3 separate regions of the Homo sapiens genome follow, and all the other regions are linked to region 2. Evidence: promoter capture Hi-C in 16 types of primary human blood cells and fetal thymus (Javierre and others, 2016). All regions are on one chromosome and are shown on one strand. The core of a region is centred on a gene start or on the middle of the fragment in contact, and the rest is flanking DNA. Distances in the headings are between cores, read along the strand shown. Region 1 overlaps HOXA10-HOXA9 (HOXA10-HOXA9 readthrough). Region 2 holds the start of SNX10 (sorting nexin 10). Region 3 holds the start of HOXA1 (homeobox A1).

Region 1 (2,912 bases), core at 299-2,798, 870 kb before region 2:
GGGACCGCAGGTACGAGGTGGCTCGACTGCTCAACCTCACCGAGAGGCAGGTCAAGATCTGGTTCCAGAACCGCAGGATGAAAATGAAGAAAATCAACAAAGACCGAGCAAAAGACGAGTGATGCCATTTGGGCTTATTTAGAAAAAAGGGTAAGCTAGAGAGAAAAAGAAAGAACTGTCCGTCCCCCTTCCGCCTTCTCCCTTCTCTCACCCCCACCCTAGCCTCCACCATCCCCGCACAAAGCGGCTCTAAACCTCAGGCCACATCTTTTCCAAGGCAAACCCTGTTCAGGCTGGCTCGTAGGCCTGCCGCTTTGATGGAGGAGGTATTGTAAGCTTTCCATTTTCTATAAGAAAAAGGAAAAGTTGAGGGGGGGGCATTAGTGCTGATAGCTGTGTGTGTTAGCTTGTATATATATTTTTAAAAATCTACCTGTTCCTGACTTAAAACAAAAGGAAAGAAACTACCTTTTTATAATGCACAACTGTTGATGGTAGGCTGTATAGTTTTTAGTCTGTGTAGTTAATTTAATTTGCAGTTTGTGCGGCAGATTGCTCTGCCAAGATACTTGAACACTGTGTTTTATTGTGGTAATTATGTTTTGTGATTCAAACTTCTGTGTACTGGGTGATGCACCCATTGTGATTGTGGAAGATAGAATTCAATTTGAACTCAGGTTGTTTATGAGGGGAAAAAAACAGTTGCATAGAGTATAGCTCTGTAGTGGAATATGTCTTCTGTATAACTAGGCTGTTAACCTATGATTGTAAAGTAGCTGTAAGAATTTCCCAGTGAAATAAAAAAAAATTTTAAGTGTTCTCGGGGATGCATAGATTCATCATTTTCTCCACCTTAAAAATGCGGGCATTTAAGTCTGTCCATTATCTATATAGTCCTGTCTTGTCTATTGTATATATAATCTATATGATTAAAGAAAATATGCATAATCAGACAAGCTTGAATATTGTTTTTGCACCAGACGAACAGTGAGGAAATTCGGAGCTATACATATGTGCAGAAGGTTACTACCTAGGGTTTATGCTTAATTTTAATTGGAGGAAATGAATGCTGATTGTAACGGAGTTAATTTTATTGATAATAAATTATACACTATGAAACCGCCATTGGGCTACTGTAGATTTGTATCCTTGATGAATCTGGGGTTTCCATCAGACTGAACTTACACTGTATATTTTGCAATAGTTACCTCAAGGCCTACTGACCAAATTGTTGTGTTGAGATGATATTTAACTTTTTGCCAAATAAAATATATTGATTCTTTTCTATTTTTTGCGGGTCTGCTCTTTGCACCTTCTTCTCTGGGTCAGGGGAGCCTATGTAGAGTCTCTGGGTAGGGGCGGGTTGGGGTGGTGAGAAAGAGCCCCAATTTTGCCTCTGGCTGGCTTTCAGGAGCGGGACCTGCCACAACCAGTCCGCCGAGCTAAGCTCTCCCAAACAGGCCAGCTGCCTGGCGGCGAGAAAAAGCTGGGAAACCCGGCGGAGGAGCCAGGCTCCCGGCCTTGTGTCTATGTGCGGGACGGCGGAGAAGCCCCTGAGGAGCTGGTCTGGTCTGGCCAGTAGCAGTGGAAAGACCACTCTCACCTTGGTGCCCCCGAGAAAATTCCCAAACCTGGGCCTTCGTTAGCTTGGTGAGGAAAAGGGGGAGAGGGTGACAGGATAGAGAGCTGGGAGCCGCCTTCTAAGCAGGCTCTGAAGAGGGAAATAGGAGCCCCACCGGCCCAACGTGGCCATGCAGGCAAACATTTTGGGGGCTTGCAAAGGAACAAAGCCCTGCATCCTCGCACCGCCCGCCACCCCCGCGGAGTCCTGCCAGCCTGGCCCAAGAGAATCTGGGTCCTGCACTGCAAGCACCTCTCGAGCACAAGGCCTAACAGAGGCAGGGCTGAGGCAATTGACGAGCCCCTAAGCGCCATAAAAGAAAATGAGGGCTGTTACCGTTTATGGGGTGTAAAGGGCTACGAGGGGCGGGGGGGGGGGAACGGCCACAACTTCGGAGGCCTGAGCGCTTTCCAGATGTGGCCGGAGGGTTCGGCCTCGCTTCCACCCCCTTGCTTCCCTCGCCCGACCCCCTTCCCCCACTCCACGACTTCTGCAAAGTTGGATGTGTTCTAAGCTTAAAAGGGGAACCAGGGCGCGGGTGGATGAGGCGTCCCCTAACCCCCACCCCCACCCCGCCGCCAGGTTGGGACGCCCTCTGTTGTTGCAGACAGAAGGAACTTCAAAGAATAGGCAGTAAGAGTGTGCCATAAAGGCCGGGTCTGCGAACTGTCTGGAATTCGTCCCTTAATGAGTTTACAACTGTCCAGCCCCAATTAGGATATTCCACCAAAGCCCTTTCATTTGTTCATTTGTTCTGTCTGCCGCCGATAAAGCGGCTGCGGAAACACCTCTTTTATTGGCATTGCCTCCTCTGCAGTAGATTCCGGGCTCCACGCAGACTCCCCGGGACCTAGGCCCACGCCCCTCGTTTGGGAGTGGGGTGCGGTGGGCTAGCCGGCGGCTCCCAAAGCTCAGGCCGGCGGAGGTAGCTGAGGCTGCAGTACCAAACGGCGGCCAGCAGATGGCAGTGTGGCTCCATGCAAGAGGCTTCCGCGCCGCCATCTCCCGCCTCCGCGACCCTTGTGAAGTTCCTAAGATGTCGACTTGACACGAGCCTTTCTGGAATGGGAGCCCCAGATTTTAGTGAACAGCCGCCCTATATTTTCTGGGCTGCTCAAGCCTGGCTAGAAGCCTCGCTGGGAAACAAGGAATCGGCGGGGGCTTGCCCGACCCTCACCGCTCGCGCCTCCCTGACCCCATCCCGGGGGCCCAGTGCTGCCGGGCTGCAGCTGTCCGGGCGGCCGCGGGGCTGCAGCTCCAGGCGCGGGCGCGGCTCCAGGGTCACCGTCCT
Region 2 (2,887 bases), core at 338-2,837:
GGATTGCTTGAGCTCAGGACTTCCAGACCTGCCTGGGGCAACATGGCAAAACCCTGTCTCTACAAAAAAAATACCGAAGTTAGCCAGGGGTGTGGTGGCCCGCACCTGTGGTCTCAGCTACTAGGGAGGCTGAGGTGGGAGGATCACTGAAGCCTGGGAGGTGGAGTTTGCAGTGAGCCAAGATCGCACCACTGCAATCCAGCCTGGGTGACAGAATAATACCTTGTCTCAAAAGAAAAAGAAAAAAGTAAATAATATTAAGAATAATGAAGGTCCAGCTATGTACCTACCTTAGGAATAGGCATCACTGGAAGTGATGGCAGAGGCAAGGCAGGAGTCCCTGACCTCACCTCCATTCTCTCACTGAGGAGCCCCTGCAGAAGCTGGTCAACTATCCAAGCAGTCCCTGCTTCTTCCTGGCGAAGGCCTCAGCCTCCAGCCCAGCCCCCTCCTGGGAGAGGAGGGGGAGCTTATGCAATCCAAACCCAGTTCCCAGGCCCCAGAGGTGGACATAACTCCGGGGTGGAAGTCAGAAGCCTGCCAGGTTGTAGGCCTGGTTCTGCTCCCATCTGGCTGAATGATCCTGGTCCCAACACTCAGCGTCCCTCGGCCTTAGCCTCCCTGTCTGTAAAATGAAAGGTTTGATGGAGATCATGTGCAAGCCTCCTCCCCGTTCTAATTTTCTGATACCATCATTTTTAACGTGTCTTGTAGAGATAGAAGCCCTTCCTTTCAGCAGGACATGTTGCTCCCCATTCCGTGACGATCCCCCTCAATAATCCGTGTAATTTGAGAAAAGTATGATGCATCGGAACTGAAAAACAGGCTGTTGCTTTCCTGGTCACCAAATCTGATAATCAGTCAATTATATGGATTTTCCCCTGGGCCTTCTCCCTCAATCCCACAATCCCACGAATAAACCTGCCTACCCCTCCCAATTCCTCAACTCAAGGCTACCCGTTAATGAATGAATAAAAAAATAAATAAATAAATTTTAAAAACCACCTCCCCACCCCCTTCTACCCGGCCTGGTGTAAGGTGCCACAGCACTTCTTCCGTAATCTAGAATCCACCTCTGCCCCACCCTCTCCCCGGGGTGTCTTTTTAGCCAAGAATCCCTGGATCGACGCGCTCCATCTCCCCGCTCTACCGCGCTGATCATTTCTCCCTGCCCGGCACACCTCGGCTGAAAAGGAGGCGGCTCCTCTGCTCCAAGCCCAAGGGACCCAAACCTCTTTCCAGCCCGCAAGGGTGCGGGCACCTGGGAACAGCGGGAAGGGCCCGCGCCTCTGGAAAGAAGGGCCGCCGTCCCCACCTGGGCGGTGCAGGGGAGGCCCCCTCAGCGGGTCTCTTGTCACTTACGGGCGGCTCCTCCGGGCAGAACAGAGCAGGGCCGGGCCGAGCCGGGCTTGCGGGCCGCGGAGTTTGCTGACTCAAAGGCGCGCGGCGGCAGCGGCGGCGGCGAGCGCCCAGGAGCGCACACGAGCGCAGCCCCGCGCTCCCCGCGCTCCCCGCGCTCCCCGCGCACGTAGCGGCCCCGCGCCCGCGCTCAGCGCCAGCCGTCCGCCTGTGGGCGCCGCGCCTAGTGCTTCCGCCGCCTCCGCGCAGCCCAGCCCAGGTGCGCCCCCACCCTGCAGAGCTAGCCTCCTGCTTCCTGAAATTGAGTTAGGGAGGAAATGCCCCCATTAGTCCGGACGTTGAGGCTGGAGGTGCTCCAGCGGCACCCTTCGGAATTCGCCACCTGAGTCACCTTAAGCTTCCTAACCCTGACCCCACAGTTATGGGGAGGATTGCCGATGGGGAGGAGGACGGATAAATAACGTGATAAACAAGAATGGCAGAATGTTCATAGCATCTAGGTGGTGGGCTATGGTGTTTATATAAAATTATTTCAGTTTTTGTCTATGTTTGAAATGTCTCAATAAAACATTTGGGGGGAAAGCTAATGAGATCTGCCAAGGGACCTGACTGAGGAAAGCATTTCCCAAATGGCACCTGAGGCTGGGTCCCCACACCTGTTTGCATGGGAAACCACAATCATCACTTAAACTGCTAATAAGTGACTGAATGACACAGAATAATAAGCATAGCCTAATATTTCATTTTTCAAGCATGAATTTTCCCATTAGATACAGCTTGTCGCTGATCATCCTCCAGGGACCATTCCAGGCCCACCTGAAAACGCATCTGTTCACCACACCTACATTAACTCCCTAACAAAACGTATAAATATACAATGTTGTGTCTTAACATCTTGGATCTTGAAGTTGTATTGCTGAACCCTCAATCACTGGTATTTAATTTCCTAAAATTGCACCCAAGTCATGACACACAAGTGAATGCAACCATGATCACTTTTGAAAATCAAATTAAGCTGGTGTGGTGGCTCACGCTTGTAATCCCAGCACTCTGGGAGGCCGAGGCGGGTGGATTACAAGGTCAGGAGATGGAGACCATCCTGGCTGACATGGTGAAATGCCGTCTCTACTAAAAATACAAAAACTTAGCTGGGCGTGGTGGCGCGCGCCTGTAATCCCAGCTACTCGGGAGGCTGAGGCAGGAGAATAGCTTGAACCCGGGAGGCAGAGGTTGCAGTGAGCCGAGATCATGCCATTGCACTCCAGCCTGGGCGACAGAGCAAGATTCTGTCTCAAAAAAAAAAGAAAGAAAATCAAATTAAAGTGTATTTTTTATATTCTTGTCCCTATGCTCCGCAAAGAAAAACATTGAGTAGAAAACAAAATGCAGCATGTATCTAAGATCCTAAGAGATTCTGTAAAATTAAAATCTTTCTGAACTTATTGTCAAGAGCATGACTTTACAGCTGTAGACAAAGCAGCAACAAACCCTTGGAGAGTCTACTGAAAGTCATTTGAATATCTGTTAG
Region 3 (2,714 bases), core at 56-2,555, 800 kb before region 2:
AAGTGTCCCGTCCACCATCAGCCATTTGTCCACCGCCCCTCCCACCTGCCAGCCCCCACACCCACTCTAGACGTGCAGCAGAATGAGGAAGGTTATAAAAGGAAGCTCTCTCTCTCTTCTAACATTCCCCTCCAGAAAAAGAGGAACGCAACGAAGGGAGTTCAGCTACTATGTTGGAGCTGTGGACCGGCCCTGTGAGGCCCACGCGGGAGCGCGGAGGCTCCTGGGTCTCAGGGCGCCGGCAGATGGCCTGCAGCGCACCGCCCGGCCCCCGCGCTGGCCACGTCCGCCAGCGTCATCTCTCTCCCCCGCCTCCTACCCCTAAAAATCCGGCGGTCGAGTAGCTCCGCATCCCGGAGGGCTCCCGGTGCAAAACTGAGTGGGAAAGAGAAAGGGGCGGAGAGCGACGAGAGAGGGAAGGTGGGGAAGAAGAGCCCGGCCGCCCCCGGCCTTTTCCGGCGAGCTCTGAGTTTCCAGGGCTCATCCGCCCCTCCAAGTCGAATTACAGAAACTCCTCATTGCCATGCTAATGACGAGAGGGGCTGTGGGGAGAGGGTTTCGAAGACCCTCCTGGAAGAAGGGAAGTTTCTTTTCTTGCCCTCGTCTCCTTCACGCCCACCCGAGTTCCTCCCAGCCAGCCCTCTGCGCTCTTCCCCCTCCATTCCGAGCTTGAAGAGCCGGTGGCCCAGCCTCGCCCTCCACCACGGTTCTATGCGCTCCTCACAGCCCCACGGTCTCCCAGCCCAGCCTCAGAACAGAGGAGGTGGCCTGGGAACCCGGGGCGCGGTGTCAGCCGGATTCCCCGCCTTCCGGCTGGGCGCGCTGCGGGCTGGGCCGGCGTACTTGCGGCCACCCGGCGAGCTCTGGCCCACTGATTCCCGCCCCGAGAGAGCCGGGAGCCCTCTTCCCTTCTCACCTCTCGCCAGTTCATCTTTCATTGAACGGTGGGGAGGGGGCGGGAGCGGGGGACGCCTCCCAGCCCCCACCTCCCGGAGGCCTGGCGGGGCGGGCAGCGGAGTCGGGCGCGCGCAGAACGCAGCTTTTGCTCTTCTTCGCTCCAGCACTCCAAATCGGCCTTTGCAGTCGCCGCAGCAGCTGCCGCCGCCTAGGCTGCCTGGGGGGGCGACTGCGCGTCACCTAGACGGCGGAGCGCCGGGGATTTAAATGCCACTAAAACGGTGATCCATCACTGCGGAAGCCGGCAAACTTTTGCAGGAGGCTCAGCCATTGGCTGACACCGTCACGTGCCCCTCCTCCAGCGTCCTCCGCCCTCCCGCCCCCCCTCTTGCGCACTGTACATTCATATCATTTTTCTTCTCCGGCCCCATGGAGGAAGTGAGAAAGTTGGCACAGTCACGCCGGGCTTCGCAGGACCAGGTCACTCAGTGACAGATGGACAATGCAAGAATGAACTCCTTCCTGGAATACCCCATACTTAGCAGTGGCGACTCGGGGACCTGCTCAGCCCGAGCCTACCCCTCGGACCATAGGATTACAACTTTCCAGTCGTGCGCGGTCAGCGCCAACAGTTGCGGCGGCGACGACCGCTTCCTAGTGGGCAGGGGGGTGCAGATCGGTTCGCCCCACCACCACCACCACCACCACCATCGCCACCCCCAGCCGGCTACCTACCAGACTTCCGGGAACCTGGGGGTGTCCTACTCCCACTCAAGTTGTGGTCCAAGCTATGGCTCACAGAACTTCAGTGCGCCTTACAGCCCCTACGCGTTAAATCAGGAAGCAGACGTAAGTGGTGGGTACCCCCAGTGCGCTCCCGCTGTTTACTCTGGAAATCTCTCATCTCCCATGGTCCAGCATCACCACCACCACCAGGGTTATGCTGGGGGCGCGGTGGGCTCGCCTCAATACATTCACCACTCATATGGACAGGAGCACCAGAGCCTGGCCCTGGCTACGTATAATAACTCCTTGTCCCCTCTCCACGCCAGCCACCAAGAAGCCTGTCGCTCCCCCGCATCGGAGACATCTTCTCCAGCGCAGACTTTTGACTGGATGAAAGTCAAAAGAAACCCTCCCAAAACAGGTCAGTCCTGCTGGTTGGTGGATGCTCCTTGATTATTCTGGAAGGAGCTGGTATGCTTAATTTCCAAGGAAATTAATAATGATCTTTTTTTTAAAAGGCTTTTGTATCAGACTAGTGTTGTAGTGCATGGAGAGGGTGCCCAGAGGTGTTGGGGCAAAGAAGTCTCAGGGATTGGTGTGTTTTCAAGGATTTTATACATTTGGGAAATAGGAAGTATGTGGGGGTGGTTATTGTGACGGTAGTGTTCTGTTAATATCTTGAGGCTCCATTAATCACCGGTCTGACCATGCTAATGGTTTACATCAGGTTAACACTTTACACCTCATCACTCACCCTCCACAGCCCGATTTGTGCTGAGTTCTTGATCTTTTCTTTACCTGAGTGTTGCCATGAAGCGTGTGGGGAATCTCAAGTCGATTTAAAAATTTTTACATTTCCGTCTCATGGCTTCCCACTTTGCCCCAGGGAAAGTTGGAGAGTACGGCTACCTGGGTCAACCCAACGCGGTGCGCACCAACTTCACTACCAAGCAGCTCACGGAACTGGAGAAGGAGTTCCACTTCAACAAGTACCTGACGCGCGCCCGCAGGGTGGAGATCGCTGCATCCCTGCAGCTCAACGAGACCCAAGTGAAGATCTGGTTCCAGAACCGCCGAATGAAGCAAAAGAA

What was found. Contacts are between HindIII fragments. The CHiCAGO score rates a contact against its expected background, and 5 or more counts as called.
Region 1: a fragment that was not itself captured here is called in contact with the fragment with the promoter of SNX10 in region 2 in 2 of 17 cell types (activated CD4 T cells and total B cells); the score reaches 5.8 in activated CD4 T cells.
Region 3: a contact is called between the fragment with the promoter of HOXA1 here and the fragment with the promoter of SNX10 in region 2, in 8 of 17 cell types (neutrophils, M2 macrophages, M0 macrophages and 5 more). The highest score is 19.8, in neutrophils.

The regions. Positions count from the first base shown.
Region 1 is chr7:27,160,813-27,163,724 of GRCh38, reverse strand. It overlaps HOXA10-HOXA9 (HOXA10-HOXA9 readthrough), which reads left to right. Exons shown (of 3, transcript NM_001433944.1): 3 at 1-1,287. The coding sequence ends at 122. HOXA9 (homeobox A9) reads left to right here. Exons shown (of 2, transcript NM_152739.4): 2 at 1-1,287. The coding sequence ends at 122. Among named protein-coding and RNA genes, the nearest start is that of HOXA9, 3.3 kb to the left of the region's middle. RefSeq lists enhancers at 1,164-1,663, 2,538-2,912. The HindIII fragment of the contact is 1,178 bases long and covers 960-2,137 here.
Region 2 is chr7:26,290,562-26,293,448 of GRCh38, reverse strand. SNX10 (sorting nexin 10) reads right to left here and starts at 1,587. Exons shown (of 7, transcript NM_013322.3): 1 at 1,363-1,587. RefSeq lists silencers at 1,094-1,173, 1,324-1,563. The HindIII fragment of the contact is 4,940 bases long and covers 1-1,758 here.
Region 3 is chr7:27,094,591-27,097,304 of GRCh38, reverse strand. It overlaps HOXA1 (homeobox A1), which reads left to right and starts at 1,305. Exons shown (of 2, transcript NM_005522.5): 1 at 1,305-2,044; 2 at 2,510-2,714. The coding sequence starts at 1,393. It overlaps HOTAIRM1 (HOXA transcript antisense RNA, myeloid-specific 1), which reads right to left and starts at 1,211. Exons shown (of 2, transcript NR_038367.1): 1 at 917-1,211. RefSeq lists enhancers at 343-915, 1,041-1,335, 2,217-2,714 and a silencer at 819-988. The HindIII fragment of the contact is 6,567 bases long and covers 1-2,714 here.